Linked DNA regions of Homo sapiens: regions 1 and 3 are each linked to region 2. Evidence: promoter capture Hi-C in 16 types of primary human blood cells and fetal thymus (Javierre and others, 2016). All regions are on one chromosome and are shown on one strand. Each heading gives the region's core, a stretch centred on a gene start or on the middle of the fragment in contact. The rest is flanking DNA. Distances are from core to core; before and after follow the strand shown.

Evidence for each region. Contacts are between HindIII fragments. The CHiCAGO score rates a contact against its expected background, and 5 or more counts as called.
Region 1: a fragment that was not itself captured here is called in contact with the fragment with the promoter of ALX1 in region 2 in 3 of 17 cell types (megakaryocytes, M1 macrophages and M2 macrophages); the score reaches 6.1 in megakaryocytes.
Region 3: a fragment that was not itself captured here is called in contact with the fragment with the promoter of ALX1 in region 2 in 1 of 17 cell types (M1 macrophages); the score reaches 5.3 in M1 macrophages.

Annotation. Positions count from the first base shown.
Region 1 is chr12:85,918,485-85,921,808 of GRCh38, reverse strand. No RefSeq gene overlaps it. Among named protein-coding and RNA genes, the nearest start is that of NTS, 46 kb to the right of the region's middle. The HindIII fragment of the contact is 598 bases long and covers 1,241-1,838 here.
Region 2 is chr12:85,278,155-85,281,493 of GRCh38, reverse strand. It overlaps ALX1 (ALX homeobox 1), which reads right to left and starts at 1,274. Exons shown (of 4, transcript NM_006982.3): 1 at 1,007-1,274. The coding sequence starts at 1,232. RefSeq lists a silencer at 889-1,183. The HindIII fragment of the contact is 8,678 bases long and covers 1-3,075 here.
Region 3 is chr12:85,899,073-85,902,490 of GRCh38, reverse strand. No RefSeq gene overlaps it. Among named protein-coding and RNA genes, the nearest start is that of NTS, 26 kb to the right of the region's middle. The HindIII fragment of the contact is 217 bases long and covers 1,893-2,109 here.

The sequences.
Region 1 (3,324 bases), core at 290-2,789, 640 kb before region 2:
GATTTGTCAGATTGAGCAACTGGGGATTGCTTACTTTAAGTGGCACCTCTCTCTCAAAGAATTTCTAAAATGGCACTGTTGGGCCTTCCTAGAAGGAGCAAGGATATAAAGACATCTGTTTCATTCATGGGAAAATTGAGAACTTTTTTTTTTAATGTCTAATGTTTGAACTCATGGAAGGAGAAATCCTCTTTCTATAAGTTTGCCAGCCCACCTATCCATCTATCCATCCATCCATCCATCCCTCCTTCCCTCCGTCCATCCATACATCCATCCATTCATTTAGTCATTCCTTCACTTATTTAATAAATGTTTATTATGTTTTAACAAATTTGACTTCCCTGGACATATACCAGGTTTTCTAAGTATATTATAATTTCCAGGGTTTCCTTCTCTACTAAGCCTCAGAAAATCATATATAAAATATATGACCTTATATACTAGTTGGTAAGGAGATGAACAACTTAAAGGTGGTAGCTTTATAGCTTATTTTGTACTGTTAAACTTCATTAAATGAAAATTATTTTTATAAATAAAATTATTTTTATTCCAATTTGGACACAAATAAATATATAAATATAATTTTTTAATTTTAAAATTCAAAATATATAATGTGATATATGGTCATTATTCATTGAGCTCAAATTTTATTGGTTATAATATTATGCAAGAAATGCTGGCCTACAATGTTAAAGAACGAATTGGCATTTCTCTTTTCATATGAGTTGAAAAATTTGAATAGGGGAGACTATTCAAAGCTTGGCCAGATACAGCAAAAAGATAGAGAAATAGGGGATGGGGAGACTATTTTGTATTTGTATTTTGTATTAGCACCATTTTCTTATGGTGGCTCAGCAAGGGAATTCTGAGCTAAACTGAGGGCTCCTTGCAATTAAAAAGAAAAATATTTATTTAGAATAAAAGCCAGAGTTATTTAGTAGGGCACATATTCTTATTAAATACTGTCTAGACTGTATAGTCTTTATAAAGAAATTAATATCCTGTTGATGCTGTATGTTTGTCTTCAAGTATGTAAGCAGAAATTTAGCCATAGTCACTGCTAGTGGGAAGGGTCTGAATTATTTCCCCTCCTGCCTTCCACAGAACTAGTGATTATCTCTCTAAGCAGATGAGCAGAGAAAATGAAAAAAGAAAGTAACATTAAAATGTATTCATCTCTTCTCTCTTTTCAGTATTTGTTGACTGTTAAGGCTTTCTGACATCAAAGGTTATAAAAGCTTTGCTTTTCATATCTGTTGTAACCACTAGGTGGCAATATAATGCAAAAAATAAAAATATATTTTAAACGCCCTCTTTAGATTTGCTTATCGTCACAGGTAGTCTTTTCCGTGCATCTCTGAAATTTGTCTATAATTCCAAAATTAGATCCTATAATCTATGCACCTATCTTTGTATCATTTTTATTTCTCTGTTCACATCCTTGAAATTATGAATTGTGCAAGAAAACCCATCTGCCTTATACTCCTAAATATAAGATTATTTATAGATATACAATCACAACAATAAGTTATGCTAATGGCAACTTTAAAATGCCATATAAGGTGATGTAATAAAGATTATTGGAATGTGTAAAGATAACTTATAGGTTCTCTTTTTCCGGTACGATCAGGAAATGAAGTTGTGTTTTTTAGTTTTTAAAGAGAGTAATTAACTTGACTATTTTCCAAGATAATTAAAATGCTATAAAAATATTCTGTATTTTTATCTCATCTTTGATTATTCTAAAGGAGGTCCATGTGAATTAGGCCCCAGGATTTACAATGCCTCAAAGTAACTGAGGAGCAAAGGTTAACTCCACAGTCAGAGAACTCGAAGCTTTTGAATATACTGACATCAGGCCTGGCGCGGTGGCTCACTCCTGTAGTCCCTGCACTTTGGGAGGCTGAGGCGGGTGGATCACGAGGTCAGGAGTTTGAGACCAGACTGGCCAATATGGTGAAACCCCGTCTCTACTAAAAAAATACAAAAATTAGCTGGCGTGGTAGCACCTGCCTGCAGTCCCAGCTGCTCGGGAGGCTGACGCAGGAGAATCGCTTGAACCCGGTAGGCGGAGGTTGCAGTGAGCCGAGATCGCGCCACTGCCCTCCAGCCTGTGTGACAGAGTGAGACTCCATCATCTCAAAAGTAAATAAATAAATAAACTGACATTAAGTTTCTTTATCTATAGCACAAATGTGTTTAAATAACCTGCCACTCATCAAAATATCTTTAATTATCTATTATTCTTTTAAATTTATATACCAATAGTCATTCTAACCTATTTTCACCACCATAAAAGTATTGAAGTAAATGGAGACAAATTCTTGATAAATTATTGTGACGCTCCTTTCTAAGGCAGATGATATAATCTTGCATACAGAAAGCCCTAAAGATTCTACTTAAAACATCACTTAAAATGAATAAACAAATTTAGTAAAGTAGCAGGATACAAAATCAACACAAATTATTTGTGACCCTATACTTTAACAATGAACAATCCAAAAAGAAAATTAAGAAAACAAATCTGTTTACAATAGTACCAAAAAGAAGAAAATACTTAGGAATTAACCAAGGGAGTGAGAGACTTGTACAATGAAAACTACAGAACACTTATGAGAGAAATTAAAGAAGACATCAATAAATGGAAAGATATCCTATATTCTTTAATTGGAAGACTTCAAATTGTTAAGATGTCAATACTTCCCCAAACAATTTAAAGATTCATTGCAATCCCTATCAAAATCTCGACATTGTTTTCTAAAGAAATAGAAAAATAAATCCTAAAATTAATATGTAACCTAAGGGGCCTCAAATCACCAAAATAATCTTGACAAAAAAGAACAAAATTGGATTACTCATACTTTCTTATTTCAAAACTTACTACAAAGCTACAGTAATCAAAACATTGTGGTACTGGAATAAAGACAGACTTACAGTCCATTGTAACAGATTAAAGATCCCAGAAATTAATTTTGGCATATATGGTCAAATGACTTCCTTAGTGGTGCCAAGACCATTCAATAGTAAAAGAACAGTAAAAGTGGTGCTGGTAAAAAGATAACTTACAGAAGGAAAAAAAAAAAACAAAAAACAGCTTTACAAATCACATGTCTCGTAAGGGACTAACACCTATAATCTGTAGAAGACTCTTAAAACAGCAACAAAAACCCCAATTCAAAAATGGACAAAGGACTTAAATAGGTAAATATATTTTTAAAAATCAAGTATATTTTTATGAAGTGATAACAAATTAAGTTATTGTTTATAAGAACAATAACAATATTATGTAGAAATAAATTTAACAAAACATTGCAAGAGCTCTAT
Region 2 (3,339 bases), core at 25-2,524:
GTTGTAAATATTTCACACTTAATTCGTTTGTTATTTTAAAGCAACCCGCCCCTTATAGCTTAACTGTGGAATATATACAATGATAAGGAGAAGTTCTCTTGGAATTGTAAACGTGCTTTAGCTGTCGCGATCTGAAATAATAGGTTAGTATTAGGTTACAAGATAGAAAAGATAGATGGTTTGTTTTGATAACATTTTGACTTGGAGATACTTGGGCATTCAAAGTTGAAGATTTCACCCAGAAGCATTCCAAAGACTCCTTAGGTGACTTTTAATGTGAAGTCATAAAAATACAAAACGTAGAATCTGGGAATGAGTGATTAGGCCGGGGATGGTTTGCCCGAAGCTATTTAGTGTGCTTTAGTGTTTAACAAACATTCAACGCGTGTTGTATTGCAAACGCAAAAAAAAGCAGAAATTACAAATTCACACACGCTAGAAATCTAGGGATCCTCAAACTTTGAAAATATATCGCCACGTCTTGGAAAATTAAAAAGATTTATCTTTACCTAAAGGAGCTCAAAGGGTTTTTTGTTTTTTGTTTTTGTTTTCCGGTTTTTTTTTCCCTACTCGTGACGACAGTGACGTACTCTAACGAGCTGTGATCGATTTCAGTTCCTACCGCCCGGACTGCAAGGCGGGCTCGCAGAGGAAGCGTTCTGTCTTGACTCAATTACGCTCTATTTAGCGCCCTATCAGTTTACTCCAGGAACCAATATTACAGAAGGACTCAGGGATCCGTAGGCGACCAGACCCTACAGCGAAAGGAGAATCGCTCAGAGGCAACCCGGTGCTGGATCTCTCCCTCCCTCCGCCCTCCGCCCCCAAAGGCTGCAGCAGCAGTAACACCGCTTCATAAAGCGAGCACCTTCCACTACCTTCCTCCACCTTCCAGGTCCCTCGCTCCCACTTTTCTCCTTTCTCCCTCCCTGCCTGATCAGACCGATCCTGCATTTTCGATTGCGGAAGGGCTGCGGCGGCTCCGGCTGGGGCGCTAGCGACTCACCGCTGCTGTCCTGACAGGGCGAGGTCCTCTCCAAGCGCACGTGATGCTCGGCGCGGGGCAGGGGTCCGAAGGCCTGCACGCATTTGCCTGCAGACGCTTTGCTGTAAAAGGACTCATTGTCCAGCGTCTCCATAACGTGCTCCAGAGGACCTCCTGCGCCCATGTAAAAGTCACTGTTTTTACTCGGAGGGCTCTTGAGGGCAAACTTCTCGCTCAGAAACTCCATAATCCTGGAAGACTGTCGCGTAGCTCCTGGGGCACAGAAACTGGAGAGCGCTGGGGGAGGGAGCCAGTGGGTGGGAGGAGGGAGGGCCAGAGAGGAGGGAAGGGAAAGCGAGCGCTGCGGCGTCGGGAACTGCCCCGCTCCGGTCCCTTTAATACGTCCCGGCTGGAAAAGGAGCACCCGAAGTTGCTTTTATATCTTGAAACTCAGCTGGCCTCCTCGGGCAGCCTCCCAGTTCTAATGAATATGAAAATAGGCGGGCGACTAACTCCACCCCAGGTCCCCCTCCGCCCCTACCCCACCCCCATTTTCCCCACTTACCCGGGCAGAGGGCGTCCAGGCCTAGGATAGACAGACAGACAGCTCCATTTCAGACAAATGCCAGGAGAGACGAGCCCCTGACACCCAGATTCATTGCCGCCGTGACAGTGGACTGGCATTTCGGAAGATCTTGGTGAGATCGCAAAGCAGTTAAACCTCCACTCCCTACTGCCTGCGCCTTCCTGAGCCACCCGTCCCCACCCCGCCCCCATGCCGGCCACTCACTACCAGAAAGATTTAGAGGCGTCTTAAGAACTTGAAAGGAAATATTGCTCTAAAAGGCTTTTATTTCATCCGTAAATCGTTTACGTGGAAGATTCACATTAATCCGAAGCCCAAGGAACCAGATGCATTGGCAACTGTTAATCGCAGCCGCCGTAGTAGAGGGGCCGCTTCGGCTTCTAACCGGGAGGAGCTCGGGGTCCGGGCCAGCTGGGAGCTTTACGAGGCCGTGGCCTTTTCTTTTTCTCTGGAATGCGGCGGAGTGTGGACGCGGTGGCGATGGGTGGGAGAGAGAAGCCGAGCAAGAGGCAATGAAGCCATTATACTAATGCCAACCAATTCCCTACACCCTCTTCGCCACCCTTCCCTTTGGTCCACGATTTTATCATTAGACCCAAATTATTTTAAGAAAACCCGTTAGGATCAGTGCCTTTGAAAGGCTTTTACTCTAATGCCAAAGTGAGGATTGTTACAAATAGGGGTTTATGAAGAAGAGGAATGTCTGCATATTTTTACAGAAATTACTTTTAATTTTAAAGAGTTGCTGTGGAGTTACTCCGAAAAGCGCTCTGGGAGTGAGTGGTGAGCGCGCGGAGCTGCGGGCACTCGCGGCGCGGCGTCCTGGGCGCGGACAGGTCCAAGGCCTCCATTTCCACCAGAGGGGATGGTAGGGCAGGCAGGACAGCACTGCTAGGTTGAAAGCCCTTCTGTGTGACTTTTGGCACGACTCTTGGCTTCCTAGGAGCCCGCGGCGCTTGGGGGAAATGCGTTCGGTGCCCTGGGCACAAAATCGCATTTGCGTCAGGCACCCTAAGCTAGCAAATTTGGTGAAAATAAGCCAGACAGGTTTTGGTCCAGGTAGGCCTCTGCTTAGACGTCCTGACACAGCCTTTGTCAACACTGGCACTCACAGCGGCCGTCGCGTTTCCCCAGACAAGTCTGGCAATTATGGTGAGGCCTCGGGCAGGCCGAGCAGCCCGGACTCTGAGGATGGTGAGGCCAAGCCCAGCTGTGGTGGGCATGCTGATGGGTTTGAGAGTTTCCACCTTCTGCGGGGGTCTTAGCTGACCCACGCCTCTTTGGTGAGACCTTCTTCGAGACCTGACCAGGCCTCAGCCAGAGAGTAACAATCAGGGAGGGCTGTGCACCCCGGAGCTGCTCCTTAGCGTTGCGCGAAAGGCAGGGTCGGCCTTAAGCACCCAGATCCGACCGGCGGATCCCGAGCAGATCAGCTGGCAGCAGCAGCCTTGCTCGCCCGGCCAAAGTCCAACCCAGACTGTTCTCCCAAGGAGGCGCACAAGCTTAGTTCACATGGCGCAGCGCTCAGTGTGGCCTTGAGCGCGCACTCAGATTCAGGCAAGTGGACACTATTCCTGGGACTAACTAGCTTCTGCTGTATTATTATTACTCTCTCCAGAGCAGTGCTGCAAGAACCAACTGCAGATTGTTAAATTTCAGGGGAGCAAGGTCAAAGAAAAGCACTAGGGACTGAGCTTCAGCAGGAAGCCAGGCTGCGTCGGGCCGCAGGAACTCCAAACCAGACAACCTGGCATTCTGAGGTCAGGCC
Region 3 (3,418 bases), core at 752-3,251, 620 kb before region 2:
TACATTAATATTTTTATTGATATATAATTTATGCAAAATAAAGTTCACCTGTTTAAAGTTTATAGTTTATAATGGTTTTTTGTCTATTTACAGAGTAGTACAGGCTTTACTATAATGTAATTTGAGAACATTTTCATCACTCCAAAAGAAACCTTATACCCATTAGCCGTCACATCTCCCTTCCGTAAGTCCTAAGCAACCACTAATCTATCATATTTCTCTATGGAATTGCCTATTTTGCATATTTTGTATGATTGGAATCACGTAACATGTTATTTGTAACTCACTTTAATATGTATAACATTTTGAGTTATACTATATTTTGTTTACCTATTCGTCAATTGATGGAGAGCTGTGTTTCCCCTATTAACTATCATAAATGCTGATGGTATGAACATTTGTGTGCAAGATTTTGTGTGGACACGTTTTCATTTCTCTTGCCTATATATATCTAGGGGTAGATTAGAAACCTCTTTTCACTGCCTGTGCCATGATGATCCTCCCTGAGGAACAAGTTGTTAGGGAAGGAAGAATTGGAGTCATCATCTAGCTGCCACCACTGCCCAGTATATATCTTCAGCAACGCAGAGCCAGGTAAGACGGGATCTGACCATGTTTTATTTGTTATTGAGTCCACCCAAAATAGCAATTCCATACTATTTAATAGAAAGTTGGGGGATATGAAAACTACCACTTTGCTGTTGAGCCCAGAAAAATTACTCTTTCAGCATACAGAACTGTGGAGGAATGGGTGCAGCTCTGAGTTCCAATGACATGACCTGCCCCGCTCTTACCAAGTTCTGTAGATGTGCTGAGTAAATGCCTCTTAATTTGTTACAAGTTCTTCAATCAATTTGGATAGATTTTGAATATTTTATTTTTCATGTTTTTGATACCTTTAATAAAATGTCTCCTTATGGGAGAGGTTTCATAGAAAACGTCACATCATCATTCCCAAAGTCACACCACAGATGACTGATTTATTTTTCATTTCCTATTTATTTTCTGTTTTTCTTCTCAAGCCATCTTCAAGATTTATTGAACTTATTTTTCCCCTTTATTTATCTCCTTTCCATGTTTTTTTTTCTTTGCCAGTTTACAAATTACTCTATACCTATTATTTTGGTGTATACTTTGAGTCATACATCAATCGATGTATTTAGATGTTCTGAAATAATTCAACAACTTAAATATTTTAGCCTCCAACTCCTTTCTTTCTAATATGAAGATGCTGATGAGTGTTTTGATTCAATCAAAAGTTTGCCTTTTTTAATCCCTCAAAGTTTATACTATTACTCTCCCTAATGTAGTCTATTGGCGTTTTGATTTAGCTCATATTTACCAATACCTTTACTCACCACTTCTTCTTGCATCCCAGGTATTTTAATAGAATTATTTTCTTTCCAAAATTATTTTCTATGCTGTCAAAATCTCTAAATTAAAGAAATGATCGTTATTTTTTACTTGCTCTTGAAATGTTCTATTACTGGGCACAGAAATCTCAGCTGAGAGTTATTTTTCTTGACACGTTAAAGACGATTCACTGTCTTCCGACTTCTATTGTTACTGAGAATTCAATTCAGTCTATTTACCAGTTTTTAAGTGATTAGATTATGTGGAGTTAGAAATAGTTTGCTGCTTCTAAGAGTTGTTTGTGTTCTGTAGTTTCACTAATAATTGTCTGTATATAAATATTGTTTTATTCATCCTGCTTGGGAATCCTTAAACTTTCTGTAAGTGCTTAGAAATCTCTTTAAATTTGTCTGTGCCTCACATTTTCTCAATCCTCTGTTTCTTAGGTTCTATGTCATATTTCCTATTTATGCTGCATTGTAGAAATTTATTTTACTTTACATTTTAGCTGCTTTGGTTAGTCCTTATCAGGGGAAGCTTGTCAGTAGGAATGATTTCTGGTCTATGTGGTGAAGGATTTATAAGGCAAAAGGAGATTGGGAGGTGATTTGATCATAATTTTAGCTTTAATAAGAGAAAATCTTAAAATTACAACCAGCTTAACAAAACATAAGTGTTTTTTCTTTCTCATATAAAAATCCAGAGGTGTATCATCCAGGGCTAGTGAGGTGCCTCTGCTTCTCAGTGACTTAAGCTTCTTCCAAGTCGCTGTTGTGCCACACTTTGTGTGTTTCCCCAGACCTTATGGTCCAAGAAGGCATCTGTGTTACAGGAGGCAGGATTGAGGTAAGATGAAACACAGGGTAAAAAGAATTTCTGTCAGTGCTCTGTTCATGAGCATATCCCTTTGCCTGAACTTATTCATCTGAAAAAAACATGTAATACTGAAAGGTATTATTTACACACAGTTGGAAGGATGTCTTTATACTGGTGTTTGCAATGCTATTCACAGTGTCTCAGAAAGTAGGTACTCAAGAAGTATTTGTTAATTAAAAGAAAATTTAATTAATTTTAATAACTAGACCCTTTTTTGCATCTTGATGAAATTGGTATCAAAATTCTTTGGAAAAAAAAAAAGAGTCTGAAAACAAAACAAAGCTTTAAGACTTAAAACCCTAAATAATGATGTTCTCAGAAAACTAACCTGGCCTTGGTACTCATCCTGGTGTCTTTGTGATTATCACTCAGAATTTCATGAAACTATTTTGGCAACTCTATTATTTGGTTGTATTTGGGCACATTTTAGATAGCAAGAAGACATTTTAGAAGGAGAAAAGTGAACATATCTAAACTGCTCTCTATGTTGACAGTTTTCCCTTGATTAAAATTTGGTTAGGAGAGCAAATGAGTCGAACTGCTTACCTGAGGACAGTTAAACAGCCAGCTTCCATCTACTAGAAAAGTGGTAAGTTCTTCAGTAAGCAGGAATTAGCTTTACAAGCATGAAACAGGATACTTTAACACTCACTGAATTTAAATCCAGGGACATGAAGGCTTTTCTTGTAAATGTCAGATATCTTTTCTTTCATTAGACTGTCCCATGCTGAAGGTAGCCTCACAGTACATTGCTTTATGCCTCCTTCCAAAGTTACCAATAATAATATAGCAAGAAATAGTTTAAATTCCTCACTTATTTTTCCCCAGGACCCTGCTGAGAACACTCAAAAACTCTTATGTAGATTTATTTATACATATTTCCAGCTGTTAGTATTTCAGTACTCATGAGAATTCTTCTCCTAAAGTCTGTATATTGAATGCCCAATAAAAGTCTAATGTAATTTTAATTGGAACAAAGTAGACATCAGATGCAGTCATTTATGAAAAGCTTGGAAGCACTAAAAGATTTTCTGTCATAGAAAACCTAACTTCAGTTAGACTGTTGTTTTTAAACAGAGAAAACTTATTTTGGGTTGGTCCTGGTTAGAATAGCAATGCCTGGTGGAGGGAGTCAATTTGTTCACCAGGGTAGGTGGGCTCAGTAAGAGGATATTAAGCCTGGGATGCC